Linked DNA regions of Homo sapiens: regions 1, 2, 4 and 5 are each linked to region 3. The links are contacts of gene promoters, found by promoter capture Hi-C in blood cells and fetal thymus (Javierre and others, 2016). All regions are on one chromosome and are shown on one strand. The core of a region is centred on a gene start or on the middle of the fragment in contact, and the rest is flanking DNA. Distances in the headings are between cores, read along the strand shown.

The links. Contacts are between HindIII fragments. The CHiCAGO score rates a contact against its expected background, and 5 or more counts as called.
Region 1: a contact is called between the fragment with the promoter of S100A16 here and the fragment with the promoter of CREB3L4 in region 3, in 2 of 17 cell types (total B cells and erythroblasts). The highest score is 6.8, in total B cells.
Region 2: a contact is called between the fragment with the promoter of S100A6 here and the fragment with the promoter of CREB3L4 in region 3, in 1 of 17 cell types (M0 macrophages). The highest score is 5.2, in M0 macrophages.
Region 4: the fragment with the promoter of SNAPIN here is called in contact with the fragment with the promoter of CREB3L4 in region 3 in 16 of 17 cell types (total B cells, naive B cells, erythroblasts and 13 more); the score reaches 13.4 in total B cells.
Region 5: a fragment that was not itself captured here is called in contact with the fragment with the promoter of CREB3L4 in region 3 in 1 of 17 cell types (total B cells); the score reaches 5.9 in total B cells.

What each region holds. Positions count from the first base shown.
Region 1 is chr1:153,611,358-153,614,511 of GRCh38, forward strand. It overlaps S100A16 (S100 calcium binding protein A16), which reads right to left and starts at 1,780. Exons shown (of 3, transcript NM_080388.3): 1 at 1,595-1,780. It overlaps S100A14 (S100 calcium binding protein A14), which reads right to left. Exons shown (of 4, transcript NM_020672.3): 4 at 2,898-3,154. The HindIII fragment of the contact is 6,157 bases long and covers 1,303-3,154 here.
Region 2 is chr1:153,534,619-153,537,671 of GRCh38, forward strand. It overlaps S100A6 (S100 calcium binding protein A6), which reads right to left and starts at 1,373. Exons shown (of 3, transcript NM_014624.4): 1 at 1,331-1,373; 2 at 584-742; 3 at 1-212. The coding sequence starts at 721. The coding sequence ends at 78. S100A5 (S100 calcium binding protein A5) reads right to left here. Exons shown (of 3, transcript NM_001394232.1): 3 at 2,529-2,818. The coding sequence ends at 2,678. LOC124904423 (a long non-coding RNA gene) reads left to right here. Exons shown (of 2, transcript XR_007066630.1): 2 at 286-3,053. RefSeq lists an enhancer at 1,363-1,998. The HindIII fragment of the contact is 28,060 bases long and covers 1-3,053 here.
Region 3 is chr1:153,966,318-153,969,151 of GRCh38, forward strand. It overlaps CREB3L4 (cAMP responsive element binding protein 3 like 4), which reads left to right and starts at 1,585. Exons shown (of 10, transcript NM_001255978.2): 1 at 1,585-1,847; 2 at 2,205-2,382; 3 at 2,613-2,834. The coding sequence starts at 2,209. It also overlaps a transcript of SLC39A1 not described here. RefSeq lists enhancers at 871-1,727, 1,162-1,381, 1,592-1,701, 1,732-1,851 and a silencer at 1,342-1,843. The HindIII fragment of the contact is 4,469 bases long and covers 1-2,646 here.
Region 4 is chr1:153,657,404-153,660,484 of GRCh38, forward strand. It overlaps SNAPIN (SNAP associated protein), which reads left to right and starts at 1,300. Exons shown (of 4, transcript NM_012437.6): 1 at 1,300-1,483; 2 at 1,735-1,781; 3 at 2,045-2,163. The coding sequence starts at 1,341. RefSeq lists an enhancer at 1,066-1,145. The HindIII fragment of the contact is 14,460 bases long and covers 1-3,081 here.
Region 5 is chr1:154,229,225-154,232,247 of GRCh38, forward strand. All of the region lies in intron 4 of UBAP2L (ubiquitin associated protein 2 like), which reads left to right. Among named protein-coding and RNA genes, the nearest start is that of UBAP2L, 9.8 kb to the left of the region's middle. The HindIII fragment of the contact is 3,253 bases long and covers 15-3,023 here.

The sequences.
Region 1 (3,154 bases), core at 530-3,029, 350 kb before region 3:
TCTCACCCCACAGACACCTCTGGAGTCTTAAGTTTTTTCCAAGTGTTGGGATGTGTCCCTAGACTCCTGTCCCTCCTGGTCACTGTTCTCTCCAGAGCCTAGCCCACTGTCAAGCCTAAGTATGGATTCTCTGTGTCCCTTCCATCTACCTGGAATTCATTTGCTCACTTAGGCACCATGAGTTTGCTTACTCATTCATTTATTGGCTCATTCATTCACTCTCATTCATTCACTTGCTCATTCAATAATGCATTCACTCTCTTGCACATTCATTCATTCATTCCCTTTTTCATTTACTCATTTGTCCTCTCTAACTTCAATATATAGGGAAGGTGCCATCCGAACTGGGCTGACAATGCCACCTCTATCAGCAAGGCTGTTTCAAATGAAATTTCTCCAGCCTCAGCTGTTCCATTCTCTGCTCCTTCCTGTGTTCTTTCTCCAATTCCACAAGGCCCTCTCCAGGAACAGCTCCCGGAGCATAGTGGGGCCTGCTTGGCCCTGCCTCACCCCTTACCATCCTCACAGGATTCTGCGTCTAACTCTCTTTGTCTCTCTCTCACACACACACACACACACACACACACACACACACCGAGCAAGGACCTCGGCCATTCCTGATCCCCTCTGCTTGGGTGACCCATCACCCTTCCACTCACTTCAGTTCTTGGAGCAAGAAGCCAGCCTCTGAAATTTTTCCAGGCAAGTGAAGTTGGAGGAGTTCAGTGTGGATCTTGCCCCCGCCTCCCCCAACACACACACAGCTACCCCAGCCTCAACAACACTTACTAGAATGTGGGGAAAGGCAGAGCCAGCTCCCCAGCACCCCTGCCCTCACCACCATCCCCACTGGGCTGGGCAGGGGAAGGCTCCCATAGTGCAGGTGGCTCTGCCAAGAAAAGCAGCTCAAGCCGGGGCCTGCCTGGGTCCTGAGGTGGAGGAGCTGCCGAGGTTCAGCCCCCCTCTCTCTATCTTTCCCTCTCCCAGGGAGCTTGCAGGCTCCCCACAGCCTCACTCGGGTTCCTCCCAGATCTCATCATCCCTCTCAAGGAACAGCTCCTGGAACACAGTGGGGTCTGCTTGGGTCGTGAGGTAGAGGGGACGCCACCTCAGCCCCCGCCTCCTCTTCTCGGAATCTCAGGCTCCCTGGAAACTGCCTGGTTCCTTCTGGACCCCATCACCTCCCCTAGGACACAGCTCCCAGAGCCCAGCAAGGCCTGTGTCCAAGCTCTGACCACCCCCAACCCAGACCAACACGCATTTGTCCTCTCCTTTTGGGGAGGATCGAGTAGCTGTGGTCAAAGCTTCCAAATACTCTGCCCCTGGAGAGGAGCTCCGTCAGCTGCTGCGGCAGGGAGGGGGTCTCACCATCCCATCCATCCCTCTAAAGGCCTCACCCAGCCCCCAACCCCCCAGGACTCCCCATTCCTAAACTGGCCTGTGGGAGAAAGTTAATAATTACCAAAATCTTCCTGCCTGCTCTCTGGCAGGCCCCTCTCCCCAGGCCCCCTTCACTGCCCCTTCTCCTGGCCTCCCAATACTGTGGGGCCCTCCGGCAGCCGAAGACCTCCCAGGCCGGGCCCAGGGTGCTCACCTGCTGCCTCAGTCTGCCTCCTCTCCAGCAGGGCTCTGGGGCCTGGGCTCTGGCACTGCCAAGCAGCTCCCTGCGCTCAGCCCAGCCGGGACTCCTCCCCGCTGCACTCCCAGAATCTGTCCCACTCCCTCCCAGCCCTGCCCGCTGAGCTGGCTCGGTGGGGAGATAGTGGCTGAGCTCCTTCTTGACTTGGCCCTGGGGTTGGGCCCTTGTTAAAGGGATACACACCTTTTTTCACACCCCTCTACCCCCATCCCAGAGGGAGTGGTGAAAACTGGCACTCCCCCAACCCCACCCTCCCAGCCCCGCAGGGGCTGAGCAGAACCTGACAGGGTAGAGAAAGGAAGGGAAGGACTATCACCTGCCTTTCTCACCTGGGTCACTGGGATCCCAGTTTCAGGGGCTCCCAACAGACAAGTTCAGTTAACATTCCAGGCCAGCCTAACTGGCCACAGAAACCTCCTTGCCACTGGGGTTTCAGGAGTAACGCCCGACTTCTGTGCTCAAATCAGAAGGCAGATGCCAGGGACCTGTCTGGCTCCCTGGTCTTCTGTCTCTAGTCTGACCCATCAGCTCTACTGAGACCCAGCCCTAAGATCCCTCATGTACACCAGAAGACTCCTCTGGAAACTCCCCACACCCCACCGTTTCCCTAAGATACCCAAGGAAACTGGCCAGCTCGACCTCCCTACACTAGGGCAGCAGCTGAAACCAAAGAGGGGCCCACTTGCCCACTCCAGCGGGAATGATATTGGGTCACTGGGCACTCACCATGTGTCAGGCTCTCTGTAAGTGCTTTACATGATGTGTGGCATTGTCCTCCTGGCAATCCTGTGGAAGTAATATTCATATCCCCCATTTTACAGATGAGGAAACTGATACTAAGAGCATGCCCAAAATTCCAATGATAAGTGGCAGATCTGAGATTCAAACTCAGGCCAGTCAGCCTGTTTCTAACCGCCCCCCACCCCCACCCACCCCATTTCCCTGGTTGTGCCAGCCAGGGCTCAGAACACCTGGACTAATATCCTTTTCCCCAAGTGTGCACACATACCCTCCTCTCCTATAAGAGGGCCCGCCCATTGGCAAAGAGGAGCCTGTCCCTCAGAGAGGACCATGTTGCCCTTTTGGACCTGGTACCACCCTCAACCCAAACCCATAGGGAAAAGTGAGTCCCCATTCACTTCCACAGCCAACCACTCCAGCCCCACGTGCCCCACCCTACCAATGACTTTGCCTTTCACCCCCAAGCTCCTCTCACCCGTGGACCCTCAGGGAGGGGGTGTCCAGTCAAGACAACATGTTTCACTTTTTTCATTTTTTTTTATTAATCAAATGATACAAAACAACCATCATTCTGTCAATGCCCAAGCACCCAGCTGGTCCTCTCCCCACATGTCACACTCTCCTCAGCCTCTCCCCCAACCCTGCTCTCCCTCCTCCCCTGCCCTAGCCCAGGGACAGAGTCTAGGAGGAGCCTGGGGCAGAGCTGGAGGCAGGAAGAGAGCACTGGACAGACAGCTATGGTTTGGATTGGGGAAGAGATTAGGAAGTAGGTTC
Region 2 (3,053 bases), core at 123-2,622, 430 kb before region 3:
TTATTGTACAATTACCCACCACTGGATTTGACTCAGAGAGGACCCCCAGAGGGTGTCTCCATCTTCCCTATTTATTTTCAGCCCTTGAGGGCTTCATTGTAGATCAAAGCCAAGGCCCCCAGGAAGGTGACATACTCCTGGAAGTTCACCTCCTGGTCCTTGTTCCGGTCCAAGTCTTCCATCAGCCTTGCAATTTCAGCATCCTGCAGCTTCTAATGTGTTAGAATGTGAAATCCATACTCAGTGGTGATGACAACCCTGGATTCTTCCCCTTCCCCCTCCCAGGCAATCCTCTCTGCAAGTGGCTCTGTGCTCCCTCATCACCAAGGACCCATGTCACTTTGGCATTGCTTCTCCTCAGCTACTTCTCAGTTACTGGTCCTCATTTGGAGAGATGGATATCCGGCTGGAAGCATCCCCTACCCGCTGGGAGAGTGGGTCTACAGCTCAGGGTCTACATGTGGACCAGGGCCTCAGAATGTGGGTAAATGTGAGTCAGATGCACCTGGCACCTCTCTCTCCCCTAATCCTGCTTCCAAAGGACAAGGGTGGGAAAAGGGGTCCTGGGGAGGAGGCCACTCACCGAGCCAATGGTGAGCTCCTTCTGGATCAGCTCCTTCAGCTCCTTCTTGCTCAGGGTGTGCTTGTCACCCTCCCTGCCGGAGTACTTGTGGAAGATGGCCACGAGGAGGCCAATGGCCTGATCCAGGGGGCATGCCATGGCTGAGGGCTGGGCTTGGAGCTGGCAGCAGAGGGCCTAGTCAGTGCCATGGGAGCAAGGACTTCTCACCCACACACCCCAATAATGCTGCCTGCACTAGCCCCGCCTCCTTTGGAACCACCCAGTCTCAGGCCACACACAATGGCATCAGGAGACAGCCCAGGGCTTGAAGGGGAAGGAGAGAGCACACTAGGGCCAAGGCAAGAGAGGTGGCTTAAGGATTCTAAGAAGCATATAGGAACAGTAGCTTTGGGCACAGCTGAGAACTGTCCTTCAGGGGATCCAGAAGTTGAGGAGTATGGCTGGGCAGGGGAGGGGAATGGAGGCTGCAAAGGCAGCTTAAACACAGCTTCACAGGGCCACACATGGTGGCAATGACACACCCAGGGCACTCCCTTCCGCACCCCAAAAGAGCACACCCCATTGCGATCCCTTAGCCCAAGGCCTGCCTGGCACAGCACTGCTGCTCCTGACTATCCCTCCAGCGGGGGAGCGCCACAGATGGCCCCAGTCTGGATCCAGCGGCTGAACTGGGCAGGGGATGGCTGGACCCCCAGCGTGAGGGCAGCTGGCCCTGGAAAGTACCCAGGGCTCCTGGAGAGAACTCACCGGTAGGGAGGCGGCCAAATGCGACGCGAGCGGTCGAGGGGATGGGCTGTGTCGCAGTCCGACTGGCCTTATAGCGGTCGGTGCCCCGGAGGCCAGCTCGGCCAAGCCCACCCCGCCCGCCCAAGTCCCGCCCGCGCCCCACCCTGCGCCGTGGCTTACACAACGCACATTCGCGGTTTACCCCCTCGACTTTCCACGCCTCCTGCCCGGGGCTGTTCCGGGTTAGGACGGGATGGGGGAGCCCAGCAGTGCCCACTGCACGCCTGGTGACGAGTCTCCCCTCATCTGCGCAGCTCAGTTTGCTCAGTTTGCTCTTCGTGACACGTGACTCGGCAAGGGGAGCAGGAGGAGGACTGCGGCGGTCACCCCTGCTTCCTCTGCCAGACCGTGAATGTGACCCTCGAGCCAGCGCAGCGTCAATGTGGGCAAGGAGGGCGCCTCACAGGATGCCGGTGTCCCACAGAGGATACTCAGGGTCACCCCAGAGGAGATAGGGGGAGTAGCCAGTGGTGTAAAGGATATCTACGGCGCCCATCCCCCACCAGCAACAAGTTCCTACCAACACCTCCACTCCTTCCCCTCAGTGCCCCAAATTCCATTCACTACAGCACCTTTGGTGTTAATGTGCATGCACGTGGGAGCCCAGCCCTGTAAGCACCATTCGTTATTTACGGGGGAGTGAAGGCCTTTTCAGACCCTCCCCTGAGAAAAGATTTTGATGGAGGAGGCAGGGAGAGAAGAAAGCACTGTCCCCCATAGATGATGAGAGTGGTGCTATTGAAGGGGAAATGGTGAAGAGGGAGGGGGCTGGTGTGGAGGCCAGACATGCCCTTCCTACAGGTGCTGCCAAGGTGGCCTCCGGTGAGCTGTGGACAAGTCAGGCCTGCCTGCCTATCACCGCCCTCAGGAGCCACTCCCAACCCCTCCCAGTGTCCTCCTCTCAAAGCAACTTTCCCTCTTAACTTCCTCTGCATCCTTGCAGAGTTCCCGCCTGGCCTAACTTCCCCATTTTCCAGGCAGGCAAAACTAAGCCATGACAAAACCAATGACGTCCACACCAAAGAAGGAGAGGAATGCAGTGGGAGCCCAGGACCCTAACCCCCAGAGGCAGAAGCTGTCTCAACCCACTCAAGGAGAGACCCTTCCTGTGCTCCCCTCTCCCCAGGCCAAGGTAGACAAGACAGCTTCAAAACCAGACTCCCAGCACCTGCGATGGAAACTTTATTTCCTCCCATGGAAGGGTCCATCTGGGAGGGAGAGGAGGGCAGGGGGCCAAAGAGGGTCTGTGAGAGGAGCAGCCGAGGTCAGCAGCAAAGGGTGGAGGGTGAGGGTGGAGGGCAGCCCTGGTCACTTGTTGTCCTCTAGAAAGAAGTCGTTGTAGGCCATGCACAGCATGGTCAGGAACACCGAGTACTCCTTGAAGTCGATCTCCTGGTCGCTGTTCTTGTCCAGGCTCTTCATCAAGTCATCGATGCTGCTCTCCTTCATCTTTTGTGGACCCAGGTGGAGAGACAGCTCAGACCCCGCTCCCAGCCCTGCCCTCGCACCACTGCATGGTGTCATCCCCACCCCGAAACTTCAGGGTGAGCCCCAGCTGAGTCAATGACACTGTCAGCATCTCGACCCCCAGAGTCTGCCCACTGCCCACACCTAGGGAAGGGCCTGGCATGAGGTAGGGGGTCAGGGACCTGACTCCTGAATGGAAATAAATGACAGCAGGAAT
Region 3 (2,834 bases), core at 335-2,834:
CTACTTACAGGGTAACCTTGAGAAAGTTACTTAAACTTGTCAGCTCGGACGGGCGTGGTGGCTCACGCCTGTAATCCCAGCACATTGGGAGGCCGAGGTGGACGGATCACGAGGTCAGATCGAGACCACCCTGGCTAACACGGTGAAACCCTGTCTCTACTAAAAATACAAAAAAATTAGCTGGGCGCCTGTAGTCCCAGCTACTAGGGAGGCTGAGGCAGGAGAATGGCGTGAACCCGGGAGGCGGAGCTTGCAGTGAGCCGAGATCGAGCCTCTGCACTCCAGCCTGGGCCACAGAGCAAAAGAAAAACAAACAAACAAACTTGTCAGCTCCATCTGCTGTAAGAATTATATGAGTAACATGGAAATGCCTGACTAGACCCTGTTCCCGTTTTTACCCTTAGCCCGTTCAAATCTTCATAAGGATAATTAGTAGCAGTTTGAGTTCTGGGATTCACACTCCAAACTACTGTTTTACTCACCCAGCTACCCTTTTCTGAAATACTACTGAAAACCATACCTGTATCAGTTTACCTCCATTGTTTTACTTGAAGTGAATTCCTGGACCATCAGACATTAGACCAAGGCAAAAAAATAAAAATAATCAATCAACCCTGAGTTTTGGTATTACTACTTTCTAGTCATGGATCTGCCTCCTCATAGGTAAAATTTGCAAAATATTACCCGCCGTGTGTGCCTCAGAACTGTTATGGATTAAGGAAGAGAACAATTTTTATGAAAACGTTTTGTAAATTATACAAGTGTGGGACATAATGTTCCCGGTAACTGTATGCAAACAATAAGACAACAAACGCAAAAGGCTTTTTAACTTGTTGCAGTTTTCCTGCCCCGTGTCCCTCCGTGAATGAGCAGCGTGCAGCGAGCGTGTGCGCACAGCTGCTGTTCTCCATTAACGCCACACTGCTCGGCTTGCGGACGGGGAAACCCGCCATCGCGCTCCTGCCGCCTGCCGAGCGAGGATCACCGCTCCACTGGGGTCAGCGGGCTGTTGACTCCCCGCCTGGGTGAAACCGGAGCTTCCGAGTCACGTGGCGCGCGAAGACAAACCTGGCTGCTCAGGGTTTCCCGGAGCTTTCTCCCAGCTTCCCGGCGATTCATATTCTGGCGCTTACCCCTCCCTTTAGGCTGGCGGAACCCAATCCCCGCCTGACAAATAAGTCCCGCCGGCCGGACGCAGTGGCTCGCGCCTGTGGTCCTAGCTGCTCGCGGTGCTGAGGCGGGAGAATCACCTGAGCCCGGGAGGTCGGGGGCTGCATGGAACCGTGATCGCACCACCGCACTCCAGCCTGGGCAACAGAGCGAGACCCTGTCTCCAAAAATAAGAATAAAGAAAAAAAAAAGAAAGAACTGCGGCCCCATTGGCCTGACTCTCCTGAACAGCCAAACTGTCTCCGACCAGTTACGGAAGAGGCGGCCTTGAGAGGGTAGTGTGCCATTGGCTCGATGTCCTGCCCCTCCGAAACCTAAGTCTTCAGCTTCCAATCAGGACTCAGCTTTGGGAAGAGCGCCACGCGGTGGGCGAGGGGATGCCCTAGTAAATTCGCAGGTCTCTTGACTCTTTCCGCCTTTGTTTACAACCCTGCCATGATCTCCCTCTTGCAAAAGCGAGGGCTACAGAACAGGCATTCAGGAGTCCTGTGCTCCAGTCACAGCCTTTTCTGTTCTTCAGCTAGGAGACACCAAACCCTCAGGAAGATTTACTATAGCTAAGAGAAAACTGCAGCAGAAAGGGCGCGGCTACCTACTTCTTAAATTCCGTTTGTGGACCCTCAGACTCTTAGTCCCCTACTCCCAGATACAGCGGCCCTACCGTGGCTCCTGGCAAGGTGGCATCCACTTTTGTAGTGTAAGGCTGGGGGCGGGGTTTGGCTGGCAGGTCCAGGATACGAGATCCTGGAAGAAAGAAAAGGTGTAGTGTTTGGGGAGGTCAACGGGCTATGCTGGCTTGACAGGGCTGGGCTCTTCAGAACAGGTAATGCTTGGGGGGGGCCTCTTTGTCTAAACCTGAGGGATAGGGCTGAAGGTGAAATATCGAGGGGACAGGTGAGGGGGCTTGCTAGTGAGGAAGGAGTGGGGGGGCGGGGATAATGGAAAAGGGAGCAGAGGAGCCCAGAAACTGTAGGGGGTAGTAAGCAGCCATCATTCCGTTTCTGCAACCCTCCGTCCCACACGCCTTCCTGCAGAAGCATGGATCTCGGAATCCCTGACCTGCTGGACGCGTGGCTGGAGCCCCCAGAGGATATCTTCTCGACAGGATCCGTCCTGGAGCTGGGACTCCACTGCCCCCCTCCAGAGGTTCCGGTAACTAGGCTACAGGAACAGGGACTGCAAGGCTGGAAGTCCGGTGGGGACCGTGGCTGTGTGAGTGTGACGAGTGGGAGTGGGGGTGGGGTTGAGACACAACTCTGTGATAAGAGGCTTCAGCTCCCACTTGGAGACAGGTCTGAAAACAGACCACCCCCAAAATAGACGTAAGTTGTATAATAACTGTCTCCATGCCCAAGAAGTGAAAGGACTGAAAATGAAGCATAAGTCAGGGAGGACTTCCAAAATTCTTCCCTGCACATATATATAACCTTTTCCTACTGTAGGGCCTTCAAGAGAGTGAGCCTGAAGATTTCTTGAAGCTTTTCATTGATCCCAATGAGGTGTACTGCTCAGAAGCATCTCCTGGCAGTGACAGTGGCATCTCTGAGGACCCCTGCCATCCAGACAGTCCCCCTGCCCCCAGGGCAACCAGTTCTCCTATGCTCTATGAGGTTGTCTATGAGGCAGGGGCCCTGGAGAGGATGCAGGGGGAAACTGGGCCAAAT
Region 4 (3,081 bases), core at 50-2,549, 310 kb before region 3:
TGCCTCCCGGGTTCACGCCATTCTCCTGCCTCAGCCTCCCGAGTAGCTGGGACTACAGGAGTCCGCCACTGCGCCCGGCTAATTGTTTGTATTTTTAGTAGAGATGGGGTTTCACCGTGGTCTCGATGTCCTGACCTCGTGATCCACCCGCCTCGGCCTCCCAAAGTGCTGGGATTACAGGCGTGAGCCACTGCGCCTGGCCGCCTGGCTAATTTTTTATTTCCTGTAGAGACAGAGTCTCACTAGGTTTGTTGCCCAGACTGATCTCGAACTCCTGGGCTCAGGTGATCCTCCCGCCTCAGCCTCCCAAAGTGCTGGGATTACAGGAGTGAGCCACCATGCCCTGCCTGCATGTTTATATTATTCAGCCTTAAAAAGGAATGAAATTCGGATACATGCAGTTTTTTACATATTTAATGCCATTAAAAATATACTCTTTAGAAATAGACCAGGCGTGGTGGCTCACGTCTGTAATCCCAGCACTTTAGGAGGCTGAGTTGGGAGGATCACCTGAGCCCAGGAGTTCGAGACCAGTCTGGGCAACAAACATAGTGAGACCTCTTCTCTACAGAAAATGAAAAATTAGTCAGGCATGGTGGCTAACACCTGTGGTCCCTGCTACTTGGGAGACTGAAGCAGGAGGACCTCTTGACCCCAGGAGGTGAAGGCTACAGTGAGCCAAGACGGTGGCACTGCACTCCAGCCTAGGCGACAGAGAGAGACCTTGTCTTAAAAACAACCAACCACAATAAACTCTTTAGAAATAGAAAACGATACTATGAATATAATGTGGCTTTCTCATAAAGTGTTTTTGTTTTTGGTTTGTTTTTGTTTGGTTTGGGTTGCTTTTTTTTTTTTTTTTTTTTTTTTTGAGGCGGAGTCTCTCTGTTGCCCAGACTGGAGTGCAGTGGCGCGATCTCGGCTCACTGCAATCTCCGCCTCCCGGGTTCAAGCGGTTCTCCTGCCTCAGTCTCCCAAGTAGCTGGGTGCCCGCCACCATGCCCGGCTATCTCATAAAGTTAACATGGGAAGGCTATGGACAACTGCAGGTATTCGCGTTTATTTTCACCTTTAAAGAAAACGAAAAGTATCCACTCCAAAAACTGGTTCCTTTCTACAACCTGAACTTTGGAGATTTTCAAGACCAGCCACAAGGCCTCTACTCCTACGGCCTGGCCCTCCTCCCCGCCCGGTTCGCGCTAGACTCCATTTCCCAGAAACCCCGGTGTCTTGGTGGAGACAGCATTTCCCGGGCGCCCCCTCACGGGGCGGGGCAGTGCGGCGCGGCTCCGGTTCCCGGCGGCCCTCGCGGCAGGTTTCGGGCTTCAGGACAATTCGTGATGGCGGGGGCTGGTTCCGCCGCTGTATCGGGGGCAGGGACCCCGGTGGCGGGGCCCACAGGCCGCGACCTTTTCGCCGAAGGGCTGCTGGAGTTCCTGCGACCCGCTGTGCAGCAGCTCGACTCTCACGTACACGCCGTCAGGTGCCCGGGAGGGAAGTTGGGGGCGGGGCCTGTCTCTCTGGCTTTGTAGGGGCGGGGCCAAGAAAGTGTTCTGGCTGGGAGTGGGCATAAATTTAGGAAACTGATTCGAGGCGGGGAGGACAGGCGGGAAGGCCGCAGGTGGAGGGTTCAGCGGAGGCCGGCTTCTCTCAGTACTTGGTAAATACGTAGGGGAGTTCGTTTCCTGAGCTCCGGTAACTGCCTGACCTTGTAGGCCTTGTACCTCTTTGCAGAGAGAGCCAGGTAGAGCTCCGGGAACAAATTGACAACCTAGCCACAGGTGAGTGAGCATCCCTGTGTACCCGGAATTCTTCAGCCCACTTTCAGGACCTTAGGTTTTTGCCAACCCCTGGGCTGAGTTTCTGTCACTTGCTTCCAGGGCATCAGGGCTGCCAAAGGACTCCTCCTTTCAGGGATGTCTTAAATCTCTAATGGCTGTGGCCCGTTTGGGTGCAAGTGTTTTCCATCCCATTACCAGCCTGCTTTCCCTCAGAACAAGAGATAAGCCGTTAGATCTTAGCTGCACCTTACTTCCATCCCCAGAACTGTGCCGCATAAATGAGGATCAGAAGGTGGCCCTGGATCTTGACCCCTATGTTAAGAAGCTACTTAATGCCCGGCGACGCGTTGTCTTGGTTAACAACATTCTACAGAATGCTCAGGTAAAAGAATATCTTACCAACAGTGATTCTTTGCCCTTTTTTGTAAGTCCTCAACACAGTGAAAGCCACTGTAATTTTAAAATTCTTTGGGGAAAGGGAAATTCACTTCTCCCAGTACTTGAAAAATACCTAGGAAAATTCGTCTCATTCTCACTATTCAGTTGCTGCCATTTACATTCTTGTGTGTGTGTGTGTGACAGTCTCCCTCTGTCACCCAGGCTGGAGTGCGGTGGCTCAATCTCAGCTCGCTGCAACCTCCGCCCCCTGGGCTCAAGCAATTCTGCCTCCGCCTCCCGAGTAACTAGGACTACAAGCGTGCACAACGCCCAGCTAATTTTTGTATTTTTTTGTAGAAGTAGGGTTTCTCCATGTTGCCCAGGCTGGTCTGGAACTCCTGGGCTCAAGTGAGCTTCCCACCTTGGCCACCCGAAGTGCTGAGACTACAGGAGTGAACCACCACACCTGGCTATTTATTTTTATGATACAAGGTCTATCACCCAGGATGGAGTGCAGTGGCATGATAAAGGCTCACTGCAGCCTCTACCTCCCAGGCTCAAGCGATCCATCCACCTCAGCCTCCCAAGTAGCTGGGACTACAGGCATGCACCACCATGTCCAGCTAATTTTTGTATTTTTTCTAGAGACAGGGTTTCACCATGTTACCCAGGCTGGTCCCAAACTCCTGCATGCGAGTGATCCACCTGCCTGGGCCTCCCAAAACGCTGGGATTACAGGCGTGAGCCACTGCACCCGGCCTGCCTGGCCTTTTTTTTTTTTTTTTTAAATAAAAAGACAGGATCGGCTGGGCGCGGTGGCTCTTGCCTGTAATCCCAGCAGTTTGGGAGGCCGAGGTGGACAGGTCACCTGAGGTTGGGAGTTGGAGACCAGCCTGACCAACATAGAGAAACCCCGTCTCTA
Region 5 (3,023 bases), core at 391-2,890, 260 kb after region 3:
GTAGCAGAGAAACAAGCTTTGTAGCCTGCTGACCATCCCTGGAGATGATAGGGGATATCTTGGAGGATCTCTTGCCCTGGAATTTAGACAAGTCGCTTTCACTTCTCCTTCCCACTTCATGAGAATTCTGTTTTTATGCTTGTCTTATGTTTGTACCAAATTGTAATCCTCTGACTGCCTTATTGATCTTCAGAATGTTCCTGCAGTGCTTACTAGAGAAATTTTGTTTTTTTAATGAGCAGTGTATTATTATTATTATTATTATTTTGAGCCAGGGTCTTACTCTGTGGCCCTGGCTGGAGTACACTGACATGCTGCAACCTCCTCGTCCTGGGCTTAGGTGATCCTCCTACTTCAGCCTCCTGAGTAGCTGGGACCACAGGCATGGGCCACCATGTCCAGCTGATTTTCCCATTTTTAGTAGAGCCAGGGTTTCTCCATGTTGCTCAGGCTGATTTCAAACTCCTGGACTCAAGCTAGCTGCCCGCCTCGTCCTCCCAAAGTGCTGGGATTATGGGCATGAGCCACCGCACCTGGCCCAGTGTATTATTTTGAAATCATTTTCATTTATTGGGTCTTATACTGGGGCTCTTTGGTTGGAATAGATATCAAAATTCATCCTTACAGATAACAACTTGTTTTTTTTCTTGAGTCAGAGTCTTGCTCTTGTTGCCCAGGCTGGAGTGCAGTGGCGTGAACCTGCTCTCTGCAGCCTCCACCTCCCAGGTTCAAGTGATCCTGTGCCTCAGCCTCCAGAGTAGCTGGGATTACAGGCATTCACCACCATACCCAGCTAATTTTTTTTTTTTGAGACGGTGTCTCTCTCTGTCTCCCAGGCCGGAGTACATCTCGGCTCACTGCAAACTCTGCCTCCTGGGTTCAAGCAATTCTCATGCCTCAGCTTCCCGAGTAGCTGGGACTACAGGCATGCACCACCATGCCTGGCTAATTTTTTGTATTTTAGTGGAGACAGTGTTTCACTATGTTGCCCAGGGTGGTCTTGAACTCCTGAGCTCAGGCAATCCTCCTGCCTCGGCCTTCCAAAATGTTAGGATTACAGGCGTGAGCCATGAAACCTGGCCTCAGATACAACAGCTTTCTGATACTACAGAGTCACTCCAGCTAAATGCAGGAGGTTTGTCAATTTCTTTGAGACAATGGGAAATAATAATGGAAAACTTTTAAAAACAATTGAATTTAAATTGGTGGGTTTTTTCTTCAAAAGTGTTATCCTGGATTAAATTTTACACTGTTGACCTTATTTGAATATTTACTATCTGGCCAATCAAGATATGCTTTTGATTTGTTTTGGGTTTACTCTAGAATAATTGTCTCCAGATTTTATGGGGGGAATCAGGTGGGGCTATTTATGTTTTTTTAAAAGTCTGAATGTTTTTTCGCAAATCACATTTTATCTTACCTTCCAGCATCTTCTGTCTAGTGCTATAAGGCTGATGTTATACAGTATCAAAAAGGAAAATAAGCTGGAGAATATAGGTTTATGTTACGAATAAACTAGCTACTAGTGAAACCAATGGGAAGCAAAGTCAGCTCCCAGGGATATTGGATGTATTTGGGTGGGTGAGATCATTTCAGAAAACTGAAGTCGCCTTTGGGAAGATAATAGTAATTCTTTCTCCTGACCCATCTTGTGCCAGCAACAGATGTGCATACAGAGGAGGGAGAAAGGTTACAGTTTCCTGAAACTTGCCAGGTTTTGAGATAGCAGCATAAATTCTAAAAGCTGTTTTGAGTCTAGCTTCCAGAGTGTTCCTGGTGTATATTTAGCTACAGGGTTGTTCTAACTTACTGTGAGCATAAAATGACCCACTAACTGTAATGTATAATAGGCTTGGGTTGGAAGAGTAGGCAGCAACAAACTACCAAGTCTTGGGTAGGTAATCTTTTTAAAACAAATGAATTAAGAGATGGGGTCTTGCCCTGTCACCCAGGCTGGAGTGCAGTAGCATGATCACTGCAGCCATGGACACCTGGGTTCAAGCAATCCTCCCACCTCAGCCTCTTTAGTAGCTGGGACAACAGGTGTGCGCCACCACACTTGGCTTTTTTTTTTTTTTCTTTTTTCTTTTTTTTGAGATGGAGTCTTGCTCTGTTGCCCAGGCTGGAGTGCAATGGTGAGATCTCGGCTCACTGCAGCCTCTGCCTCCTGGGCTCAAGCGTTTTTCCCACCTCAGCCTCCCAAGCAGCTAGGGCCACAGGTGTGTGCCACCACACCTGGCTGATTTTGGTATGTTTAGTAGAGACAGGGTTTTGCCATGTTGCCTAGGATGGTCTCTAACTCCTGGCCTCAAGTGATCCACCCTCCTTGGCCTCGGAAAGTGCTGGGATTATAGGTGTGAGCCACCATCCCCGGCCCTGTTTTCTATTTCTATGAATTTGCCTGTTTTAGAGATCTCATGTAAGTGAAATCATGTAATATTTGACCTTGTATGTCTAACTTACTTCACTTAGTGTAATGTTTCAAGGTTCGTCCATATTGTGGCATGGGTCAGAATTTCATTCCTTTTTAAGGCTAATATTCCGTTGTACATATATGTGGCATTTTGTTTACTCATCAGTGGACACTTGGAATTATCTGGAAGTTGTAGACATAATACTTGATACCCTTAAGTTCTTCAACATGCTTCCCTTAAAGGAGGATACTCTTACATTACCATAATACTATTATCAATCCTGATAAGGTTAATAATTTTGTATTATCTAATACTCAGCCCATATTCTGAAAGTGATTAGACATTAGGTAGCTGTTACTGAGCACTAGGGCCATGATTGAGTTTGATGGTAAGATAATAAAGATCTGAGGCTGTGCACAGTGGCTCACACCTGTAATCCCAGCACTTTGGGAGGCCATGGCGGGCGGATCACGAGGTCAAGTGATCAAGACCATCCTGGCCAACATGGTGAAACCCCATCTCTACTAAAAATGCAAAAATTAGCTGGGCCTGGTGGTGCCCTGTAGTCCCAGTTGCTTGGGAGGCTGAGGCAGGAGAATCACTTCAACC